Regions from separate parts of the Homo sapiens genome. Here region 1 is linked to region 2. The links are contacts of gene promoters, found by promoter capture Hi-C in blood cells and fetal thymus (Javierre and others, 2016). All regions are on one chromosome and are shown on one strand. The core of a region is centred on a gene start or on the middle of the fragment in contact, and the rest is flanking DNA. Distances in the headings are between cores, read along the strand shown.

The links. The method cuts DNA at HindIII sites, captures the fragments that hold promoters and counts their contacts. A CHiCAGO score of 5 or more calls a contact.
Region 1: a contact is called between the fragment with the promoter of FBXO7 here and the fragment with the promoter of HMGXB4 in region 2, in 1 of 17 cell types (total B cells). The highest score is 8.4, in total B cells.

Annotation. Positions count from the first base shown.
Region 1 is chr22:32,472,144-32,477,297 of GRCh38, reverse strand. FBXO7 (F-box protein 7) reads right to left here and starts at 2,487. Exons shown (of 9, transcript NM_012179.4): 1 at 2,174-2,487. The coding sequence starts at 2,295. RefSeq lists enhancers at 1,971-2,140, 1,726-2,226, 2,395-2,564, 2,227-2,727, 3,453-3,512 and silencers at 1,897-2,206, 2,217-2,406. The HindIII fragment of the contact is 4,456 bases long and covers 776-5,154 here.
Region 2 is chr22:35,253,883-35,258,908 of GRCh38, reverse strand. It overlaps HMGXB4 (HMG-box containing 4), which reads right to left and starts at 1,416. Exons shown (of 11, transcript NM_001003681.3): 1 at 1,352-1,416. It overlaps LOC105373017 (a long non-coding RNA gene), which reads left to right. Exons shown (of 4, transcript XR_938210.3): 1 at 1-721; 2 at 1,648-1,696. RefSeq lists a silencer at 857-1,356 and an enhancer at 1,622-2,122. The HindIII fragment of the contact is 10,131 bases long and covers 1-1,596 here.

The sequences.
Region 1 (5,154 bases), core at 1,238-3,737, 2.8 Mb after region 2:
CAATGCTGCATTTTGAAAAGTGCTCCAAATAATTCTTGTTTTTATTTCACTCGTAAATATATTTTTTCTTACTGATTGAAGTGTCCTTGGTAGAGAAATTAAAATTACTGAAATAGAAGCTATTCCTGTTTGCTAGAAAACAAGTGGCCCTGCTTCTCTTTTCAAAATGCTTTGATAAACAAAACGTTGAAAATCTGCCATTTGCCCACAAAAACACCACCCCAACTTTGGCAGAAAAAGCAAAAACACCTCAAATGAACTATGTGTTTATGGGTCATTTGTCACAGCAAAAGGTTGCTTTTTAAAACAGTATCTAGTACAAGGTACGTTCAAGTATCTGTTTGCAGAAAAGGTCATGGTCCGCTTAATAAATATACCAGCTCTTCCTCCCACTTTAGAAAAAGGGAAAAGCTATTTCTAAAGTAATATATAGTTTTCCAGGATTCTACCTCTGAAATTGGGGCGTTAAGAGGAGTATTTAATTCCAGGAAATGAAATTCTAGAAACTCCAGCCTTCTTAGAAGTATTTCATGGCAGCTCTGCCTATGGAGTAGCCATTCTTTTATTCCTTTACTTTCTTAATAAACTTGCTTTCACTTTTCTCTTAAAAAACAAAAACAAAACAAATAAAAGCATTTCATGACAATCCTAGCTCCACTTGCTCAGTAAAGATATTTTTAAAATAATATCACATGGACATATTTTAAAACTGCACCTTTATTAGAAAATGAGTATACTTTCAGAAAAAATGAGTTTACTTTCACAAGCTGAAGCTTAAATTCTGTCCAGGTAACCAGCCTCAACTGTAAAAAGAAATCTGAAAGAGAAACCAACGTGCCCTTTTGGGCAGTCATATTGAGTTTCACGTCCTTTCAAGACTGCCTAATTTAAAAATAATAAAATATATATATACTTGGTAATACCTTTAAAAAATAAGTTTGAAGATTTATTCAATCTTCTACTCGTAACCTACTGGTAACGATGCCAGTATGTAAAACACACAGGTTTAACAACAAGAAATAACAGTAGGCATGTCACTTACTATAATGTTTAAAAGGAGTTATGTCAGTATCTTATTTAGGGTTTTTTTTTTAATCAGGAAGAAAACAGGCTTACTTTCAATCTAATAATGTCTTAACCAGGAAAATGAAAGGGCGAGAAGTTCAGAATAACGGCCTCATTTTACCCAATTCCCTAAAAATAAGGTGAAAACGTAGGAAGGTTTGCTTTTGTTTTGAAGAATTCACCTAAAAATCCCCAGGGAACATCTTTTTCATTTTTCCTTAGCACACTCAAGTTTCAAATTCACTAGCTCAGTATTTGAAGAGGACCACTCTTACCTTGCCGCTTTACTCCCAAATTATTGTCCCCAAAAAGTATCTTTTAGGGAAACAAAGCAGCTTCACCTGCAGTCCCACAAACCAATAACAGAATATGATCCTTTCTCAACTTTACTGCCCCCAAACTGCAAGCTCTCAAGATCAACGTTTGCCTCAGTTTTAGCAAAAAAGCAACATTTCACCCAAGAAAATGAAATGGTCTGAAACACGCCTACACGCTGTCCTTTCTAAAACTTTTCGGCGGCGAAGTCCAAGCGCTCACCGCGGTGCTCGGCGCATGAACACAACAGAATCTAAAATTGTTGCCGCTTCACAGCAGCGATACAAGCTACCGGTGGCCTCGGATTGAGGGCAGATTTTTAACTTCTAGCAATTTCCAAACTTTTTCATTGAAATACTCCAACAGCTGAAGAAATTAACTCGGACCCCTCACAGTCCAGAAAGGTTTAACCCAAGCCAAGCTCATCATTTCCAACTTGAAATCTAACCAGTTGTGGAAATTGTGCGTTCCCTCCTCTCCCTGGTTCCGTTTACTGCAAAACCAGAAGCCATGACTCACCGAGGAGGGGACCAGAGCCCCCGGGAGGCCGGGCCATGTTCTCCAGGAGCCGGACCCCAGCCGACCACCCGCGCTTCCCGTCGCCTGCACCCTCCGGCTCCGCGACGCCCGGAAGAGCCCGGGCCTCCCGTGAAGGCCCCCCCGGCGTCCCCGCACTTGGCCTATCGCCCGGCCACGCCCGCGCCTGCAGCCCACAGATGACGCCAACCCGCCCTGCACCCACCCCAAGCACTCCCCACTCCCCGCGGGCCGCCCAGCCCCGGCCCCAGCGTACCTGTACCCCCAGGTGCACAGCAGGGACTGCCTCAGGTGCGAGCGCAAATGCCCCAGCGTCGGCTCCGTCTCGGGCACCTCCAGCGGCCAGGTCCGCTTCAGAAGCCGCACCCGCAGCCTCATGACGGCGGCAGGCGGCCCGAGGGGCCTGGACCCGGAAGCGGCGACGGGGACGGCGGCGGGGCCGAGCAGCTCCCGCCCCAAACGGCGACGACCCCGGACTGGCGACTACCGGAGCTGAGGGGTAGCTGAGGCGAAACGGGGAAAGAGCCCCGCCACAGTGGCCGCCCTGCCACTCGGTCTCTGGAATAGAGCGCCCGCCCCTCTCCTGAGGGCGCCTCCTGGAGCCGACCCCGAGAGCTGGAGGCGGGCAGGCGGCCTAAAGGAACCGGGCCTCTCGGGGTCGGCCGATCGATGACTCCGCGCGCAACGGCGCTGCCTGAGAGCGCGGGCACAGTGCGCAGGCGCCGAGATGCGGCCGCTCGCTGGCATCCCAGATTTTCCGCGGCGGTGGCTGGGACTCCCAGTACTTACTCCCTGTGTGCGTGGAACAACGGTAGCGCTGATAGGGATGCTGCAGACAGACAATACAGTCGCCACTCCCCAGGACCAAGTGTCACCCCCTTTCTTCCGTGGCCCTCAGTTCCAGCGGCATCTGCTCTGAGAAGCCTTAGGTTAATCCTTAGGTTGGCCGGGCGCGGTGGCTCACGCCTGTAATCCCAGCACTTTGGGAGGCCGAGGCGGGTGGATCGTTTGAGCCCAGGAGTTCGAGACCAGCCTGGGCAACATGGTGAAACCCCCCCCCCCATCTCTACAAAAAATACAAAAAATTAGGTGTGGTGGCGCCTGCCTGTAGTCCCAGCTAGTTGGGTGGCTGAGGCGGGAGGGTCGATTGAGCCCGGAGGTCGAGGCCTCAATGAGCTGTGATCGCACCACTGCACCTCAGCCTGGTTCCACAGAACGAGACCCTGTCTCAAAAAAAAAGTAGAACTATTTGTAGCCAGTAATCTATGTCCGACAGTTTATTAGAACTCTGTGGCTGCATAACAATCACCCCAAAGTTTAACGCAATAAACATTTGTTGTCCCACAGGTTTTAGAGGTAAAGGGATTTGGGGATGCGTGGCTGGGTGGTTCTGTCTCCAGGTCTCCCATGAGATTACAAACTGTAGGCCAGGGCAGCAGTTATTGACTAGGGCTGGAGGATCGGCCTCCAGGATGGCACAGTCATGACTGTTGGCCAGAGACCTGTTTTCACCACGTGAACCTCCCCATAGGGCTGTTTGAGTGTCCCCATGACATGGCAGCTGGCTTCCTTCAGAGCAGGTGATCCCAGAGAGACCAAGGTATAAGCCACAATGTCTTTTATGACCTAGCTCCAGAGGTCACATACGGCTTTTGTCATATTTACAAACCAACCCTATGTGTGAGAGGATCCAGCCAAAGGTATGAATGCCAACAGACAGGGATCGCTGCGGGCCATCCTGGAGGCTGGCTACCATAGAGGGTCTAACTAATGATAACTTAGATGAGAGAGAGTATCAAGTTTCGTCCTTGTGTGATAACCATAGTCCAAATCCTTAGAGTCAAATAAAGTTTCTCCCAATAGGTGGCAGCACTTGTCCACATCCTGCCCTTGATTCTGCAAATAAATATGTATTGATTGCCTACTTTGTGACAGATACCCCACATGCTGGAGACTCAAGAGACCAAAAAGACATGTTTCTGCCCATGCAAAGTTTACAGTTGAGTGAATCAGCTCTTTCAGTAGAGTGTAAAAAGTCTCTGCTTTATGATAGACATAAATACAGACCTGAGGAATGGGATTGTTAGAAATGTTTGTTTTTTGATGTTGTAAAGAAATAGCACTTGAATATAAATTTAATTTTTTTAGCAAGGCCATTTTTATTTTTTGTAGAAAGGGTATACTCGCCAGCAGTTTTGTCACGAGAGTACACCGAACAAAGGAGACAGGGTCATATATAACCTGATGTGTCCACTTTACTGCTGTGTCTGGTTTTTTGTTTGTTTTTGTTTTTTTTTGTTGTTGTTGTTGTTTGAGATGGAGTCGCGCTCTGTCGCCCAGGCTGGAGTGCAGTGGCGTGATCTCGGCTCACTGCAAGCTCCGCCTCCTGGGTTCACGCCATTCTCCTGCCTCAGCCTCCCGAGTAGCTGGGACTACAGGCACCCGCCACCACACCTGGCTAATTTTTGTATTATTATTATTATTATTATTATTATTATTATTATTATTATTTTATTATTATTTTAGTGGAGATGGGGTTTCACCGTGTTAGCCAGGATGGTCTCGATCTCCTGACCTGATCCGCCCGCCTCGGCCTCCCAAAGTGCTGGGATTACAGGCGTGAGCCACCGCGCCTGGCCTGTGTCTGGTTTTTATTGGCTGGAATGGGACTTTATATTTTGTATTTGTCTTGATTGGCTAGTAATTTAGAACTTTTTAAAAGAGGCAAAGGCAGAGGAGAACAAAGCAAGGAGGAAGTAACTTGTGGAATGTTGAGAAAGGTCAACACCCCTTTAAGGAAGAGGAATAGGCTATGACTTAATGTTTGTTTGAACTAGTATAAATATGTTAGGGCAAATATTTAGGCTAAATTGTGGGAGTTAAGATTGTAAAGTACATTGATTTTTTTATTATGGCTAGCAGATATTTAAGAATGTTAGCATGGGTGTTTGAATACATTTTGGTTTTAAGAGGGTACATAGAGGAGGTTTGCCATGCCCGTAGGATTCTTTAGTAGTGAGCAGTGAGGAATGGTGCCAGGACCAGGATGACTCTGTGTGACCAGAGTGATGGACAGCATAGGTACATCCCAGATAAAGAAGAGCCTTGGGCTAAGCACAGGGTTTGGGACATATTCTAGAATGTATGGGAAGCCGCTAGACAGTTTTTAGCAGGGAGTCTTTACTATCAGGGTTCTTAATTTTCAGCAGTAGAAGCTGACTCTGGCTGACTAAGCAG
Region 2 (5,026 bases), core at 167-2,666:
AAAGGAAACAAAGTAAGCCCCGTCACACGGACAGTAAGAGAAATTCTGAACTCCAGGTCTGTTCCAGGATGAGAGCCATGTCCAAGATTCTGCATTCTCTTCTTCCAACCACTCCTTTCAAGAACTCAAAATGCCAGTCAGTGCAGGTAAAGGAAGATGCACATCCGCCGGTTGCCAATTTCTGAAATTTTCTTGTTACTTCTACGATACAGACAAGTGATGCCTTCTCAACTTCGTCCAGGTTTCTTCCAATCTCCGAACACGGTGACTCCGAATCCTCTTGCCACTCCCTTCTCCAGGGACCTACCTAGGCAGCACTCCCAGCCCCTGCCAGCTCTGGAAGCTGCAGAGATCCCGACAGTCGGGGATGGGGATTGAATCCTCTCATTGCAGTGCAATTAAGCGGAACCACGACCACCGCACAGATTGGCTGACAACACACATTCCATAAGACCAGCAATCGAATTTTGAGAAGCCTTGTCCAATCAACAGGCTTTATTTGGGATTCAGTTTTTTACTTTGTTCTATTAGGAGGAAATATAATCAGCCACCAGCTTAGCCCTCCAAAAGAGGGGACAGAGATGTTTCTCCGCTTTTGCACGCTATAAAGTGAATCTACAAGTAGTAGTTGGTGGAGGGAAAATGGGCCTGCATGGAGAAGGCGCCCACCACGAAGGCACGGCCAAGCCGGGTTGCACGCAAGAAACACACAAAATACCAGGTGATTTACACAAACAGCCCCCAGGACCACCATTTTTGTGGTCCCCAAGGCAAACCAGTGGGATTCTCCCGGCAGTTTTGCGGCAACAGCTAGCTCAACAAAGCTCTGTGAAGAGGAAAAGAAGAAAGCTCCTCGTACTTTCTCCTGCCAGCCGCAGCCCCAGCCCTCCCGTGGCCGCGGCCACGAGCCCTTTCCCCCTGACAGCCCGAGGGACCCCCGCATCGCGGGTTCCGAGCCGCACAGCTCGACCTGAACCCGGGTTCCCGCGTCTCCGGCGGCCTCACGGCGCCCCCGAGGGCGGAGACGGCCCGGGCAGGGGGAGGGGCGGCCCGGGTCCGCAGGCCCCCGGGGCGGCCGCACGCCCCCTCCCGGCCCCGCAGCTTTCCCGCCTTCCCCGTTTGAACAGCTCCCGCCCGCCCTCCTCCTTCTGCCCGCTCCAGCCCCTTCCTGGGGGCGGCTGCGGCCGCTACTCCAGTCCCCGGCTCGGCCCCTGGGCTAGGCCGCGAAGGGCCTGGGGCACCCCAGAGGTGATGTCGCGGGCCCAGGGCGGCGGGTGGCGACGGGGCGGGGCTGCTGCCGCCTCAGGGTGGGGGCCCAGCCCGGTCTCCTGGGGTCTCCGCTCGCCGCTACCTTCACTCGGCTCGCCCGGATCCCGCCTCAACGCCGCCGATCGCCGCCATCTTGGAGAAGGAGAGAAAAGCGCGAGCGGCCAGGGAGCCTCAGTCGAGCCCAGAGCGCAGACTCGGGCTCCGGAGGGGGAATCCCGCTCGACCAAGAGCGCCGAGCGCATCGAATAAAACTCGGAGCCTGCTGAGCGCGGGAGCTGGCACTTATTTATTGAGAATTTGCTATGTCCCAGCCTTGCCCTAGAAGCTTACAAACATTATTTCACTTAATCCTCACTGTATTCCTGTCGCATTTTGCAGAAGAGAACCAGGCTGAGAGAAGTTAAGTGACGTGCCCAAGGATACACAGGTAGTTGGAATGTGAGACCGAGTATTACTCCAAGTCTTCTGATTCTGAATGCAGTGCTTTCCCCAAAATACTATGCTGTTTCTTTCAAGATATTGTTATACAGCAGTTCTCCTCTTTGCAACACCTAGATCTATGCAGATTAATAGCAGTGTGCTTATTTGGACTTCAGCATCTACATTTGAACATTTGGCATATTAGGGGTGAGGTGAAGAACTTATCTTTGTAACAATGTACAGTAAAATAATTTGCATGGCGAATCATCTACATTTTTTAGTTAGAAACAGTCTTCAGAGAGAGAGAGGAAGAGATGTCATATACAGGCGAGAACACAATTTTTCTGATTTGCCATTGAGAACTTCGACCAATGAGTAGAAATTACAGTGTATAGAACTTGGTTTGATATGAAGAAGAACGCCAGGGGCGGTGGCTCACGCCTGTAATCCCAGCACTTTGGGAGGCTGAGGTGGGTGGATCACCTGAGGTCAGGAGTTCGAGACCAGCCTGACCAATGTGGTGAAACCCCGTCTCTACTAAAAATACAAAAAATTAGCCAGGCGTGGTGGCGCGTGCCTGTAATCCCAGCTACTTAGGAGGCTGAGGCAGGAGAATCGCTTGAACCCGGGAGGCGGAGATTGCAGTGAGCCGAGATTGCGCCACTGCACTCCAGCCTGGGGGACAGAGTGAGACTCCATCTCAAAAAATATATATATATATGAAGAATAACTTATTTTTCTAGTACAGTTCAGTAGTACAATGGGCTTCCTTGTGAGTAGTGAGCTCCCTCCCACTGGAGGAGCGCTCAAGCAGAAGCTGGTGTTACTGTAAAGCAGAGAAGTTAGAGATGTAGATTGGCTTCTAGAGTTGTGAACCCCATGCAACGTAAAATCATGTGTGCAGTGTGTGTTTTCCTAGGGCCCAGGCCCCATAAAAAATTAAGAACCTCTGTCCTAGTGTATTTTCCATTGCAGAGTTGGGTGAGTGCTTGAAGACGAGGTAGTCATGAGACCAATAAAAGCAAGGTGATTTGTCTGAGACCACACTCTAATCAGTGATCAGATAAAGATGAAAAGCCAGATTGTTAGACTCTGGTTCAGTGCTCTTTTTGCTATATCATGCTCTCTCCCCCTCTGCACTGAGTAGAAGATTGATTCTGTTTCTTACAACTGTGAGATGCTGAGATGTTAAAACACCTGAGATAAAGTTGCTGAAATCATTTGCAAAATGTAACTGCAAATACTTAATAAAAGTAGCATGGCCTTTTTCTCCGCAGCTCCCATCCTACTCACCAAAAAGACAGGCAATGAGTTTCACCAAAAGGTGTTAGATTGCATTTCTGGGACACCCTGCCTGACGTTAGGCTTCCCTTTGAGGCATTTAAGAGCCCTAATGATGTATTTCCTTTTTGTTCTTCAGAGCCCTAAATCCATTGGTCAGGATGATTTCAGTTGTGACAGAAACCCATTTCCATGTGTTTCCCCAGAAGAGGGGAATTTATTGGCTCACATGATTGAAATTTCCAGTACCTGCAGACATGGTCACTTCCAGGGAGGTAACTCAAGCTGGTCCTTTGACGTGTCTGTGGTGCTCTCCTCTGTTAGCTTTATTCTCAGATTCAGGTGATGACTCCAGCAGCTCCAAGCTTCATCATCTTTCCTGCTAGCAGTGTCCCTGTGGAGGGAGGTTTTGTTTGTTTGTTTTGAGACAGGGTCTTTCTCTGTCACCCAGGCTGGAGTGCAGTGGCACGATCACAGCTCACTGCAGCTTCGACCCCCTGAGTTCAAGCAATCCTCCCACCTCAGCCCCCCAAGTAGCTGGGACCACAGGTGCATGCCACCATGCCCAGGTACTTTTTGTATTTTTTGTAGAGATGGGTTTTTTTTGTTGTTTTTTTTTTACCATGTTGCCCAGGCTGGTCTCAAGCTCCTGGACTCAAGCAATCCTCCTGCCTTGGCCTCCCAGAGTGCTGGGATTACAGATGTGAGCCACCATGCCTGGCCCTGGAAGGAGTTTCTTTTTCCCTTTTGCTTTGGCAAAAGTCATGGGATTGATTCTTATTGCCTGAATTAGATCATGTGTCCAGACAAAAAGCAATCACTATGAGTAAAGGTGTGGAGTCTGCTGCTGCTGCTGATTGGTTAAATTAGGTCATCTGCTTACCTCCAAAATTAGGTTGGGGTAGACACAAAGAAAATCAAGGGTTGCTGTCAGAAGGGTGAGTGCATGTTAGGTAGGCAAAAACAGTAGCTGTCCCCACACTCTACCACTAGCTTGGACCTAAAAGCCTTATGAGTCCTATTGGTCCCATTTCTTCTTTTAGTCCACCTGAAGATGGAGCATATCAAGTTCTTGCTCATTTTAAGCTCCTGGAGACCTGAAGTCAGATCTCTCCTCAGCCTACTCACTCAATCACAAAATGCTATTAACTTGCTCCCAGTCTTGGATCATTGCACTTCCATTTATTAAACAGATATTTATTGAAAACACAGCATGTGGCAGGTACTGTCTTAAGTGTTGGGAATAGAACAGTGAACAGAATTGAGAGTCCTTGGCCCCCAGGAGCTTACATTCCGGTTGGGTTGGGGGACACAAAATTAAGATATGAATACTACATTCAGTGATAATCAGAGGTGGAGAAAATAATGCCAGGTTGGCTACGAGAGTACCAGCAGGGGATGTGGGTAGGAACAGCTTGTTCTTTAAAACAGTAATCAGGGAGGCTTCTCTGTTGAGGTGCACACCGGAGCTAGCTCAGCCAGAAGTGGGTTGGTGGTGGGAGCCAGGAGATCATAGTTCCTTGAATGTATTCAAGTGCTTCCTCTGTACCTTGCTGGAAAAGTATTCTTTGCTGACTATCTTTCATAGTTCTCTTGCATTTTTGAAACTTGGAAAGACAGAAAAGAGGACCCTCTGGGCAGGCCTAGTCATGGTGGGGTTTGTGAATAAGAATGCCTTTTCCCATGGCAAGTGAGGATAGCATCTAGCATATGTGAAGAGGGGGCACTCCCTAAGTGTGGGGCAGTTCTCTGGTCCACCTGATCTAAGGAAAACTGCCTGGTGCCTGGCAGCAACAGGTGGGGCCTGTCAAATTGTGCTTGGTTTGGACATCTCTTTCTTCAGGCCACTTTTCTGTGCTCTTCTCTTTCCAGATGTGTTTTGAGCAGCGTCTTTGTCTTCGGTCTGATGGGAGGATGCCATCCTGGGTACATACATTAGGCCAGGGCCTTTTGCTAGAAGTGACAGGACCTAATTAAAACTACCTTAAGAGACAGGCAGAGGGACATACCACAGATTCTCAGTCTGTGTGTATGCCCTAAATTGCAAAATTAAAAA